Linked DNA regions of Homo sapiens: regions 2 and 3 are each linked to region 1. The links are contacts of gene promoters, found by promoter capture Hi-C in blood cells and fetal thymus (Javierre and others, 2016). All regions are on one chromosome and are shown on one strand. Each heading gives the region's core, a stretch centred on a gene start or on the middle of the fragment in contact. The rest is flanking DNA. Distances are from core to core; before and after follow the strand shown. Region 1 holds the start of TMX4 (thioredoxin related transmembrane protein 4). Region 2 holds the start of ISM1-AS1 (ISM1 antisense RNA 1). Region 3 holds the start of ISM1 (isthmin 1).

The links. Contacts are between HindIII fragments. The CHiCAGO score rates a contact against its expected background, and 5 or more counts as called.
Region 2: the fragment with the promoter of ISM1-AS1 here is called in contact with the fragment with the promoter of TMX4 in region 1 in 1 of 17 cell types (total CD4 T cells); the score reaches 5.9 in total CD4 T cells.
Region 3: a contact is called between the fragment with the promoter of ISM1 here and the fragment with the promoter of TMX4 in region 1, in 1 of 17 cell types (total CD4 T cells). The highest score is 5.2, in total CD4 T cells.

The regions. Positions count from the first base shown.
Region 1 is chr20:8,017,964-8,022,444 of GRCh38, forward strand. It overlaps TMX4 (thioredoxin related transmembrane protein 4), which reads right to left and starts at 1,798. Exons shown (of 8, transcript NM_021156.4): 1 at 1,475-1,798. The coding sequence starts at 1,650. TMX4-AS1 (TMX4 antisense RNA 1) reads left to right here and starts at 1,943. Exons shown (of 7, transcript NR_184034.1): 1 at 1,943-2,141; 2 at 2,428-3,298; 3 at 4,096-4,192; 4 at 4,418-4,481. RefSeq lists silencers at 1,309-1,448, 1,559-1,798. The HindIII fragment of the contact is 3,626 bases long and covers 1-2,505 here.
Region 2 is chr20:13,237,671-13,242,151 of GRCh38, forward strand. It overlaps ISM1-AS1 (ISM1 antisense RNA 1), which reads right to left and starts at 2,017. Exons shown (of 3, transcript NR_040043.1): 1 at 1,783-2,017; 2 at 1,314-1,434; 3 at 1-439. The region is part of intron 1 of ISM1 (isthmin 1); the gene reads left to right. It also overlaps a transcript of TASP1 not described here. The HindIII fragment of the contact is 6,320 bases long and covers 1-2,553 here.
Region 3 is chr20:13,219,469-13,223,949 of GRCh38, forward strand. It overlaps ISM1 (isthmin 1), which reads left to right and starts at 1,806. Exons shown (of 6, transcript NM_080826.2): 1 at 1,806-2,446. The coding sequence starts at 2,309. It also overlaps a transcript of TASP1 not described here. RefSeq lists silencers at 1,589-1,708, 2,168-2,237. The HindIII fragment of the contact is 8,964 bases long and covers 1-4,135 here.

The DNA of each region.
Region 1 (4,481 bases), core at 548-3,047:
TCTTTGTGACTAAGAGGTAAATGCACATTTGAAGGGGTGATATGCCTTATGTTCTTCGAGCAATGTAATCTGCTGTGTGACATAAATTTTGGCTCTGATCTCACACTGAGGTTTTCACTCCATAGGCACCTGCTTGCAATTTAAATTGAAAGAATCAAAACTTGGTCTTGGATAAAGGAAAGATCCAATTTTCTGTCTGTGTCCTCAACGTAAAACAAAGATTCAATAGTAGTATACAGATTGCCAGAAACCACAGGCTAAAGAGATGTGGCAATTTCCTGAAAGATTTTATGTTTGGGGGGTGGGGGCGGGAGGGGGGCAGGTAGGGTGGAAAGGAGTTGTGGGAGGGGAGAGAGAGACAGAGAGAGAGAGAGAGAGAGAGGAGGGAGAGAGAGAGAGAGAGAGGAGAGAGAGGAGAGAGAGAGAGAGGGAGGGAGGGAGGGAGAGAGAGAGAGAGAGAAGAGAGAGAGGAGAGAGAGAGAGAGGGGGAGGGAGGGAGGGAGGGAGGGAGGGAGGGGGAGAGAGAGAGAGAGAGAGAGAGAGAGAGAGAGAGAGAGAGAGAGAGTCTGCAAGCCCACCATGATGGTCTCTCAAGCCCGCTCAGACATCTGCCCACCATCCACTGCAAGCCTCTTTCAAATGGTCACTTCCTATTATAAGGTTAAACTATAATCAACAAATCCCTTTCTTTCTCCTAACTCAAAACTGTAGTTTCCCATCTCCTTAAAGAAAAGGCACTATCCACCATTTGCTTTCTATTGTTAAAAGGGGCAATGCGTATCTTCTTTTCTTTATGGCACAATTATTAATATTACTCAGAAAGTCCTACCTTTACAAGTTATAATAAGTATCAACATTTATTTGAAATCATACTGTAAAATTTAAAAGGCATCCATATTTATGTTTTATTCTCACAATGACATCTCCAGGTCTTCAAACGGAAGACTACGACACAAATGGCCTGCCTTCACCGTGCTGCAATTTCTTCAACAGGTAACTTGCTTAGCCTGTGCTACGTATTCATACTGCACGTGGATGTCACTGAATGTCCTTTCTCTTCCAATACATATCTGTATCTAAAAGCACACGGTTTGCTTGCAGATTTTCTTCCTTCCCTTCTCCTCCCTATGGGAAGCTGCCCACTCCACCCCGAAAACACTGTCCCCCAAAGCAAGGGGACGCGCTGCACCCTCGGCTGTCACCGCGAGGGCTCGGCGCGCATGCGCGGCGCGAGCGGCCGGGCCCCACAGCCGCAGGTCGTTGGTAAGGCGGGTCCGCGGACCCCAGGTCGAGCCCAGCGGCAGTGCAGGATCGCAAGCGGCCCGGCACCGGCGCCGCAGGTTGTTGGCAAGCCTGGTCCGGGGTTTTAGGTTGAGCCCAAGCGGCAATGCGGGATCGCCACCGGGCCGCGCGGGCTTGGGAGGGTGACGCCCGCGAGGACACTGCGGCGTCCGGGGCGGGCGGGCACACTCACAATTTCAGCATCCACTCGCCCTCCATCACCAGCGTCCAGTTGGAGGCGGTCATGGGCTGGACCCGGCTCTGCTCCGGCGGCAGCGCGGCCTCCTCGGGGCCTGCCGTCGCCGCCACAGCCGCGATCCAGGCGGCCAGGAGCGCCGTTAGCTGCGGGCCGCAGCGCCCACCCGCCATGTTGGGCGCCGAGCGAGGCTTCTCGGCGGGGAGTGTGGGGAAGGGCAGCGGCCGGCCCGCAGCCTCGCTCGCCCGCCGGGTTTTTCAAGGAAGCGGGAGACGCAAGGGCCACCCCGCCTACGCCTAGCGGCGCAGACTGGCGGTGCTCGCAATGCCGCGGAGGACGCCACCTCTTATCGCCGCTTGCCCGTCGAGGCCACGCCCCCTCCCGCCTCCACTTGCCGTTGCCCGGGGTGTCGGTTACCTCAGCAACCACCGCCCTTTCTTCCTGACCGCCAAGCTGACAATAAACAGATGACCCAACGTTGCCTAAGTTAGAACATGCACCGCTGCTGCCCAGGCTCCAATAAGGGCAGGGTTGGCGCGTGTGGGCTTCTCTAAAGGGAAACATGGCCAGTAATTTTAAAATCCATCCCCTCTTCAATGATAGCAAATATAAAAGCAACGGGCTGCAAGGTACACGTATGTTTAATGAAAAATGGAGGGACGTGGTGAGTATCTCCTGCTGAAGAGAGAGGAAAATTTAAGTACTCTGCATGTGTATATTGAAGCATCACTAATTTAGGATATTGATGAAACTAGCCTATGCAATTGCATTTTTTTTACAAAAAATGTTAATTTCATAGAAACTCTTAAAAACATGGGTACTAGCCGATAAAATGAGTCAATTAAGACTATTGCCACCTGCAGTAAAATGGACCTCACATTTCTCTTGACTACAGTTTTGTCAGATCTAAAATGAGGGTAGCCTTAAGTGATTTCCAAATTTCTTTCCAGGTCACATTAGATGAATCTGTACCTTGGGACCACCACACCGTTAATATATAAGACTGGATTACAATTAAAGGATGAGGAAGCTTTCTCAAAGGGTGCTTTGTATGTGTTTACTAGTTGTGCAAACCATGAACCTCGGTAATGTGGTTAATAGACCATGAAAAGGATGTGGTTTCTGCCCTCGGCTTAAAACAAAGACAGCAATAAGACTAAAAGTACTTCAGGGCACATGAGAGCAAATTTCAATCAATACTTATAGGAGAGGGAAGTTAATTTTGCCTGAAGAGAAGATCTGGCCTGCATTATGCATTAATTAGTATTAGCTAAAAACTATGTGGACCTAGCCCTTATCATTAAAATAAAACACTCAAGGGTTTACAAACTATTGAAATTTAAGAAAATGTCTTTGCAATGAATGCTACTAAGACTCACTGTTATTAAGTACATACATATCAATTCCATAAACTCAATGGAAAACATTTTACTGTGCTTGTAAAAAGAAGTGACTCATAAACAGGAATTCTGTCATTTTATCACTTTCATGATAGAATGATGTGTAGAATTTGTTTTACAATGCTCCAGAAATAAAATGTAGGGAATGGAAAGAAGATAGGTGAAAGAAAAGTGGTGCAACATCAGTCAGTGTTGAAGCTAAGTTCATTTTGCTACTTTACCTACTCATGCATATGTTGGAAAATTTACAAAATGAAAAGCTAAAAGGAGAGAGAGCATCTTCAGCATGAAAGACAGCCATTACCAAAGCATTTCCTATCTTTAACAAAAACTGAAGTCTTAGCCTTCAGACTAAGGATGGTAGGAAGAAAGTAGCAAGGAAGTATGGGACTGACCTTGCCGTAAGGAGTCACAGACCAGGGTAAGGGACCTGTTGCTGTCAGACCATGATTGGCATCTTAGCCCTGACACTTCCTAGCCATGTGATTTGGGGCTAAAACTAGTCCACACCAAAGTTCTCTTAAAATGCGGGTAGTAATAGAACCTGCTCCAAAAGGTGGCTGTGAAGATTATATGAGATAAGAATAATGCCTAGCACATATTCTAACTCAAAAAGCTTACATATTAGGTTGGTGCAAACATAATTGTGGTTTTTGCCACAATATTGCCAACACTAATATTATTATTTGGAGGCAACAATACGCTGTAATGTCTATTTTTCTTATACTAAAGTTAACTTCACTTAGCATGATACACAATGCCTCTCACAGCCCAGCTTCAGTTTTGCCCACTTTACATTCCACTATTCCCAGAGTTCCCTGTGTCCTAGTAACACAAAGCTACTCCCCATTCCCAAAGCACATTGTGTACTTCAGTGTCTCCTTGCTCCTTCATTCTGATTAGAACACTCTTCTCCAGTTGTCCAGTGAATCATTCAGTCTCTGTCATGTAGTCCACACTGTACCTCTGATAGCTCATGCAGAATGAGCTGCTGTCTCTTCTCAGATCCAATTGCTCTTCTGTATAACTGATATGGTTTGGCTCTGTGTCCCCATCCAAATCACATTTTGTAGCTCCCCTAATTCCCACGTGTTGTGGGAGGGACCCCATGGGAGATAATTGAATCATGGGGGCGGGTCTTTCCCATGTTGTTCTCGTGATAGTGAATAAGTCTCATGAGATCTGATGGTTTTAAAAATGGTAATTTCCCTGCACAAGCTGTCTCTCTTTTGGCCTGCTGCCATCCGCGTAAGACATGACTTACTCCTCCGTGCCTTCCACCATGATTGTGAGGCTTCCCCAGCCATGAGGAACTGTGAGTTGAATAAACACTTTTTCCTGTATAAATTACCCCGTCTCGGGTATGTCTTTATCAGCAGCGTGAAAATGGACTAATACAATAACTTCACCACATACCTTTCATAGTATAATGCATTTATATGTAGCTATCACCCTCTACCCTCACTCCTCCAACCACTACTAAAAACTCTTCAAGGTCAAGGGCTTTACCTTATATATCTTTGTGTCCCCTGTATTGCAGAATACCCATCCCATAGATGTACTTGGGATAGACAGCTTCTGGCACTCCTCCCAAGATCTCTCCC
Region 2 (4,481 bases), core at 767-3,266, 5.2 Mb after region 1:
GAGTTATATATGTGTATATTTCTGTAGGAATATCATACTTCAATTTTAATAAAAGAGTAAAGAATGCAGCAGGCAGGGTACATGGTGTAGAAGAGATGGCTGATTTTCACTGGGAAAGATTACCCACAGCCCTGGAGTTCACTCTCTGGGCTCCCTGATGTGCGTACTATCCCACAGATTGTTCTCCAAATTAGAATGAATGCAGGCTGGTTTCAGTATTATGGGGGTGCTCCTCTGCCTCAGGTCCCAGTGCCATTGTTACAACATCAAAGACCAACTGCTGGCTGAGATGCGGTCCATATGAAAAGAGTGACCAGCAAATTTACTGCTTGACTTCATTCCCCTTAAAAGGAACTGGCTCCATGGTCCTCCTTCAAAGCTCAATTGTAGACATATATCTTCTTTATAGGACATCGTTTACAATAAAGAGGAGCAATAACTTAAAATTTAAAAAAAAGAATACTTTTGAGAGCACTGTGAGGTGGACATTCCATTTAATAAACATCACTGTGGTTACATTGCCCAAACATTCCCAGAAGTCCAGCCATGGGCCTGAGAGACTTCTACTGGACATGGTGACTTTTGGGGACTAATTTGAATTATATTTTTATGCTCTAGCCCTCTCCCTAGGCTCTGAAAGTTCTTGAGAAGGTCATTAATGAGAGGCAATCTACTTCAAACCAGAGGGCCACCTCACTAAAATCAGGCAAAATGGCAAAATTCATAGCCCATTACTCATTAACTTATTTGGAGCTGCCCTTCAGTAGGGTAAACATTTTTTTAAGGGTTGGGGCCAAATTAAACTCCTGGATCGATTATACATAGTTCCCCAATACCCACATGGACATCACTCCACATAATTCCAGTGTGAAAATCTCACAGACTTATTAGCATTTCCAGATACTAGAACTCAACTAGAAAACAACAAAGTTGTTTTTATGCCTATCAGAAAATGAAGAATGTTATTAACTTTCCAAGAAGGAAAAAAGTAAAATTATTTATAATATACAGGATGTTTTTGGCTTCACATGGAGTCTGACCCAGGTGGTGGAGAAAGTCACATCTACGATCAAAATGACCAGCCTCCTGAAAACTGACCAATCCAGAATAATCCTTTCAGGTTCACTCATGATAGCAGTTGATCAGCCCATAGAGGATACAACGTTCTAAAGAGTGGGCAAGTCATCCACTTCTGTTTAACCCATTACTCCTGAAAAGGTTCAGCTCTCCATACTTTGCTGGAAAAAGGCTAACAACTCAGTGCATCCTTCCCTCTCTGCTCCCCTCACTGGTACATTCAGGAAGACACGAACCAGGTGAGACAACTGAGAGCTCCTTACTGAGAGTGTGAAGTGTGATGGTGGCACAACATGCAATTCCGAAGACATCATGAAATGAGATAAATCTGGGGAATCCACATCAACTAGAAAAAAACTGGAAACATTTGAAGAGGCATTGGGATCACAAAGAGAGTGAATCTAAACATTGAACAGCAGGTATTAAATAGAAATAATGAAAGGCAAGTTCTCAGGAAAAAATCTGTGGCAGACTAGGTATTCGAAGTTCTGTTCCAGGTTCTCCCCAGGGACTCATTGCCCTGAAACTCTGTCTGGTGTGGTTCTCTCATGCCCCACAATGGTTCTTTCACTTCTTATTCACCAAGGCCAGGATTAATGCTAAGGTCTGGACGAACCCAATAATGGGCATGAATGGCCTTGGCCTTAAGTTTTCAGGGATCCATCTGCAGGGTCCTCCCTGAGATCTGAGAAGGGTTTTACTTACTTCTTTCATCTTAAGGTGAATGCTAGTGGGGGAATTATTGTGGTGTGCCCCAAGAACGTTCTGTGTCTTGGTCCTGACAATCTACATGAAGTACCTTTTGTGCCACCAGGATACGTGGGCACATGACAGGTACTCACATACACAAGGGTCACTGCACATGGCTGCAGGAATGCCCAGGTTGGACCGGGGCTTCATCTGTGCTCCAACCCACCTGCACTCCATGGTGAGGCACTCTGTTTAGAAGGCAGGTTGCAGACACTCACCAAATTCTAGAATGTTGTTGTAGGCAAGAAAGCCAAGCCCCAATGTCTCATTTCATTGACAAAGAATCTAAAACCTGGAGAAATTAAAAGATTTGGCTAAGACCATACCATTCATTTATCCTACAGCCAGTACCAGACTCCAAAGCAAGTCATCTTTCATGAAGCCACACAATCCCCCATTTCTGAACATCTGTAAAAGTTTTTATAGCCCCACTTAGCTAAAGAGAATTAGAGTAAGTGTACATCTAAAGTGCTGGGATCCTGCTACATGGTGGTTGCTCTTAGGTTGTTACAGGAGCAGAAAGGTAATTAAATGGACATGAATTGTCTCTTTTATTTAATATACAACCAAACTGCAGTAAGGCAAATGAAATAATGTACATATAAGCATTGAGCACTGCCCAGCCACATGGCATTCTACAATTCCATTCATTCATTCAGCACTTTCATATCGCGTGGCTGTGATCAGCAGATATTGTGCTAGGCACTGGAGATTCAATAGAGAACAAGCTTATGTTCTAGAAAGAAAACTGACAATAATTGATTCAGAATAAAGGAATTATTATAGATTGTGATAGGTGCTTAGCAGGACATAAACAGGGAGCAAAAGATAGGGAATAACTGGGAGTTCCTACTAAAAGAGGGTGGTCAAGGAAGGACTTGATGGAAAAGTGACACTTGAGTCCTGAGCTGGGGGAATAAAAGGACCAGCTCTGCAAAGAACTCAGGAGAGCCAGTCAGGCAGACGGAATCACAAACACCAAAGCCTTGAGATAGGAAGGACTTTGGCATGACTAAGGGATGGAAAAGAGACTGGAGAACAGTGTGTAAGGAAGAAAGTGGCACATGAACTTGCAGAAAAAAGCAAGGATTTTGCAGGTCATGATAAAGAATATGGCTGTTCTAGGATTGGTGAGGAAGCAGCCATTGAAGAGCTTCTAAATGATGGCTCCATCTGATCAGTGGATAATGAGAGGGAAGAACATAGATATGTTAGAAAATTTCACAATAATTCAGGTAAGAGGTGATGGGATGTGGACCAGGGTAGAGAAGAGTGGATGGATGCAAGGCACAGTTCTGAGACAGAGCCAACAGGATATGCTGTTGGATTGCATTTCAGAGTTAAGAAGTGAAGAGTCAAAGACAGCTTCCAGTTTCACAAGGGTAGAGTTCATGTCAGTGGATTTATATGGGACATGTGGAATATGAGATGCCTCTGGGACATGTAAGTGAAGATAATAGCAGGGAGGCTGTGAAGTGGACAGGGAGCTGAGAGTGAGGTGTCATGATGAAAGTGGTAAAAGGAGAACCAAGAGGTGTGTCACAGAAGCCAGGGGAGAAGAATGCCTTAAGGAGAGAGGACTTCTATCGAATGCTGCTGTGAGAACAAAAAAGATGAGGCCAGAGAAGTGCTCATTCAACTGGGCAACGCAGCCATGACTGGTGACCTGAATGAGGTCACCAACTGCTCTGCAGTTGCAGAGGCATCATGGGAACAGACTCCAGTGTCTATTGGGTAAAGGAACAAATGGAAGGTGAGGAAATGGAGACAGAATATACAAATAAGTCTTGCAAAAGTTTTACTATAAAAAGGGGAGATATATGAACATGTGGTCAAAAAAGAGTTTTTGGTTCATGTAAGATCAGAGATACCAGGGCATCTGTGAGGCTGATGAGAACGATCCAATAGAAAGGGAGAGATTGATGATGCAAAACTGAGAGAGGAGAAATGAGGAGTGAATTCTTCAAGAAGGCAAGGGGCTATGTGTGAGCATTGGCCTTTCACAGAAGCAGGAAAGCTTGTTCTGTGTAACAATTGGGAAGAGAAAGAAAATGAGCTATGCAGACAGGAGTATAAATAGAGTGATGGTAATAAAAGAGTTACCATCTCATGACTCCTGTTCCATCAGTGAAATATGAAGTGAGGGCAGGAGCACAAGTAGGACGTTTGAGGAGAGAAGATATAAAATGGTCATCTTGGATACTGGAGCAAGTAAGGTTGTGAAGGAAGGGCAGTTGGATTTTGGAACAGTGCTTAGTATTCATTTGAGGGTTTGAGGACATGAATCTAAAATAAAGCAAGTTTGTCAAGTTGGATGCTTTTATTGTTCCCATCACCCACCTGCTTGGCTACTAACCTACAGAAGTTGGATCACTGAGTTCAACCAAAATGGAGGTGTTGCCAGTCAAATATATAAGGAGAAGAGAAAGGGGCAAGCAGAGTTGAGGGCCGTTGCAAGGAAATGATTAAAATAAAAGAACACTTGTTGAAGAAGGAAAGTAAAAACAAGAGAAGGCTGAAGGGAGGTGAGAAAATGGCAGTGGCTTGGAGATCTCAATGAGTTTTAAAACTGGAAAAATGAGTTAAAAGAATGGAAAGTGTCTTTATGTAGAAGGTTTACTGACAAAAGGTCTAGGGAAGAGGGTGGTTGAGAT
Region 3 (4,481 bases), core at 556-3,055, 5.2 Mb after region 1:
TCCAGTGACAATTATTGGCATTTTAGAGCCTAGAGATAGAAATAAGATGTCTGACAGGCCCGGCTGCCTAAAAATCCAAAGCAAGCACCCCTCCAAACATCTCCCCTCCTCCCTCGCACCGTTCCCCACCCAAAAAAAAATAATGAAAAGGAAAAAATATAGCAGACTCTATAAACAGCTGCCAATTTATTAATAAGATGCTGGAGTTAGTTAGAATTTTAAAGATGCTTCAGGCATCTTTAAGGAGGCAGCAAGCCCTTCCTCTCCCGGGCACAAATAAGCCCAACCAGCAGACCCTACCTTAACTACCGCTATTTAAATTCTGCAAAGTACCGCGGTGACCGGAGGAACCTTCGCAAAGGCGCAAGGGTTTGCCTTAATTTGGTTAATACTTGGTTGAGATGCCTTGCGAGAACTCGAAAGCAGTTGAATTAAGAATCTTAAATCTTTCTAGGACGCGGAGAAGGAAGGTAGGAAATTGGGGAGGGGGAAAGGGAGGCGTGCCGTCAAGAAAGAGTTGATTATTTATTTAATTTCATTCACCAAGGGAGAATTCGGAGGCTCCATCCCGGAGGCACTGGGGTCCGGGACGCGGGAAAGGCTTGGAAATGTGCGACGCGGCTGTGTGCGAACGCGTGGACTAGGTCTTGGCTCGCTGGGAGGGAAGGGCTGGGCCGGCGCTGGGGAGGAGGAAGGGAGGGAACGGGTAGGAGGAGGGGAAGCGCAGTATAAAAGTCCCGGCCGGACTGAGCGTCCGCTACTCCGAGTCACTTCGGTAAGGCGGGAGCCCGAGCAAGGTCAAGGAGGGAAGTGCGCGGTGCCACGGACCGACACAGTTCGCTCTAGCATCTGACGCTCGGACTCCGCGCCCTCAGCCGGATCCCAGAGCCCTTCCATTCGCCAACCGCCCACTGCAAGGCATGAGCCGCACGCGGGAGCCCGAGGCTGCAGCGCGGTCATGAGGCGGTGGCCCGGGATCGACAGCTGCGCGACGCCAGCCCCCAAATCCCCTCTGGGCGCGGCACCCCCGGGATGAGCCCCCCACAGAGGCAAGCCCACTAGAGCTGAGATTCACTCCGAGTTCCTGAGCGCCTGAGCCGCGGGCACTGCGTCTCTGCAGCTTCCAGCCAACACCTGCGCCCGTGACCAGACGAACGCCTAGAGAGTCGGACTCCCCTCCCTTCCCAGGCTCTACGGGGCGCCGCGGATCCGCGAACAGCCGTGCCCGGCTAGCGGGCGGCCCAGCAAGTGTCAAGACCCTTCGGAACGACACTTTGGCACTCCTCCTCTCCCCCGACTGCTTCAGGCAGGGGTCGCAGGCAGACGCATGGCTTGTCCGGCGCCCCCTCCGTTTTCCATCACTGCAACTCCAGCTCCAGTTTGCCAATAAAGGTTTCTAAAGCAGCCCAGGCACCACCCCACCCACCCACAGCCCCGAGCCTCAGTGTGCACAAGGGCTCTACCCGCGCCCGTCACAGCGACCTCGGCAGCGGGCACTTGGTACAGCCCGGCAGGCTGACGCTGCCGCCGAGGGCGCCCCGGCTACCGCCAAACCGTGACAACCTCGGTGTGCCCGGGGCCCCCATCTGGAACCGGCCCTCCCCGGGACTCCGAGTGCGGGGCGGCGCGGCAGGCGGCCCCGAGGAGCGCGGAGAGTAGTGGAGGTGGCTTGCCGGGTGAGTGGCTCGGGGCGGCGAGGGCGGGGGCGCCAAGCGTGGAGGTAACTCCCGGCCGCAGCTGAAGCCCTCCTACTCCTCCTCCTCCTCCTCCTCCTCCTCCTCCTCCTCCTCCTCCTTCTCCTTCTCCTCCTCCTCCTCCCCGCGCTTCTCTGGCGGCCGCTCCCGCTCCAGCTGCGGCGCCGCGGCCACATCTGGGGCGCCCATGTGCGCTCGGGGGCTCGGCTGCGCCCGCCCCGCCGCCGACCCCGCAGCCCCCTGCCAGCAGGGTGGCCTCCGGCCCGGCCCGGGTCCCGGGCTGTCCCGGGACCCAGTCTCCGTCTCCGCCGCCGCCGCCGCCAGGCAGCGCCGGGGCTTGCTCCGCAGCCGGCTTGGACACCCCCGGCCTCGCGGTGGCTCCGCCGTGGTGCGGCGGCGGCGGCGGCGGCGGCGCCGGCAGCTCCTGCTCCCCCGGCCCCGCACACCCCGCCGCGCCCAGCGCCAGCCCCGCGGGCCCGGGAAGCGGAGCCCTGGCGGGAGCCGAGGCGGGAGCCGCGCTGCCGGGCTCCCGGGCTCCTACTCCTCCTCCCCCGGCGTCACCGCCGCCGCCGCCGGCCGCCGCGCCGGGTCCTAAAGCCGCGCGTCTCAAAAGGATGGTGCGCCTGGCGGCCGAGCTGCTGCTGCTGCTGGGGCTGCTGCTGCTCACGCTGCACATCACCGTGCTGCGCGGCTCGGGAGCCGCCGACGGGCCCGACGCGGCCGCGGGCAACGCCAGCCAAGCCCAGCTGCAGGTGAGTGCGCCGCCGGAGAGGGCCGTGCGCGGCTGCGGGGACGGTTTGTGGGGCGGGGGTGCTGAGCTAGTGCCGGGTGGATGCAGGGAGGCAGGTCCCCTGCCCCACCTAAGAGCAACTGTTTTGGCAGTAGTTTTGCCCGGGCCACTTGACTTAGGCAGAGGCGGAGCGGGGGCACGTGCCTGGAGGCTGCACCCGGCTTCCAGGTCTGCGGGCTGCGCTCCTTCAGTTCTGTCTGTCACGGGTCAGGTGCGGGGTTGGTGGGGAGGTGGGAAGGAGCGAGGTTTGGGATGAGCAGAGGAAGTGTGGAGAATGTGCTTGCTTGGGGGTGCTACCAGTCTTTCGTTGCCCTTCGGAGGCTGAGTAATGTTACTCGAGGCTGGAGGGACGCAAGGAGACTTTATAGGATGATATCCCTGAAGTCTTTGGGAGAAAGAACTCCGGGAGTCTACCCCTTTAGGAAGCAATGCCAAAGGTCAGGACATAATTTCCCAAGGAGAATAGCCAGGCATCCCCTCCTCACCCTCAGGGTTCCCTTGCTTCCAGTGTTCCTCTTCCTCCGGGAGCCTCGCCTGAGGTTCCCCCCTCCCCCCTTGTGCCCCCTTGGTCATGGGGAAGGTGCAGAGTGAAGGCACCGGTAGTGATTTGGGCCAGGGTTACCTGGGGCTTTTAAACTTGTAGCAAAGTCTTTCTCCCAAGGATCTTCCCCGTTGAAGGTCGCTTTAGCAATGGGATTCTGTTTATCCATTTCAACTTCAGGGCAAGGAGAGGGCGTAGTGGACGGTCAGACATAATGTGAGTTCTGACTTAGGAATAGAATTGCCCAGCTAGGCATTTCCTGCCGCTATGTTAGCGCCTTTCCTTGAGTCTAGGGGTGGGACAACTGTAAACTTGGAGCATAGGCAAAAGCAAGCAGGGATTTTCCCAGGAGGCAGAGGGGATTCTCTGGCTCCTAAAATCTGCTCAAACCAGGCGCGGTGGCTCACGCCTGTGATCCCAGCACTTTAGCAGGCAGAGGCGGGTGGATCACCTCAGGCCAGGTGTTGGAGACTATCCTGGCCGACATGGTGAAACCCCGTCTCTACTAAAAATACAAAAATTAGCTGGGCGTGGTGGCGCACGCCTGTAGTCCCAGTTACTCGGGAGGCTGAGGCAGGAGAATTGCTTGAACCCGGGAGGTTGTAGTGAGCTGAGATCGCGCCACTGCACTCCAGCCTGGGCGACAGAGCGAGACTCCGTCTCAAAAAAAAAATAAAATAAAATAAAATAAAATAAAATAAATAAATAAATAAATAAAATGAAATAAGCATTATTCATTGTTCCCAAAGGCCTTTATATTCATTGTCTTTGATAATTCACTTTTTACATCTTTATACAATTTATTGCGAAAAACTTTACCGTAAAGAGAAAACTAATAAAACACTTCCATTGTGTTTACTACGTGCCACCGTTTTAAGTACTTTACAGAATTTAACTCACTTAATTTAACCATAATCTTACAAGACATGGTACTGTTAATATAGCCTCATTTACAGATGCAAAAACTGAGGTACAGAGAGGTTAAAAAACTTGTCAAAGTTCAGACATTCCAAACTCTTGATTACACCAAATTTTGTCTCTACCAGGATAGACTAAAGCAAGGTGATTATTGCACGCAATTACAAAACAGTAGAAAAGTACACACCCCAAAGCTTAAAGTTGTTTTAACTTTGAGACATTTCTAAAAATGTCCTAACTTTGTGGGTTCTCTCACCTTCTCCCGTGGGTAGATAAGTACAGTGACAGACTGAGGGAATTTCTATGCGGAAGTTGAAGATGCCACCATCCTATAGACTGGGGCACCCACCAATCTAACACTGCGGAGATAATTCTTAATATCTTCAAGATTTCTGGAAGTTATATTTTATACATGATGCTTTCTTTCCTCATGGACTCATGAAAAGCCATAAAAATGATGTTCTGTGGAAAAGTAAATTTGGCAGATTACTTTATGAGGTGTTTGCTATCATTAGAATAACCCGGGGTTGGCCTTTTC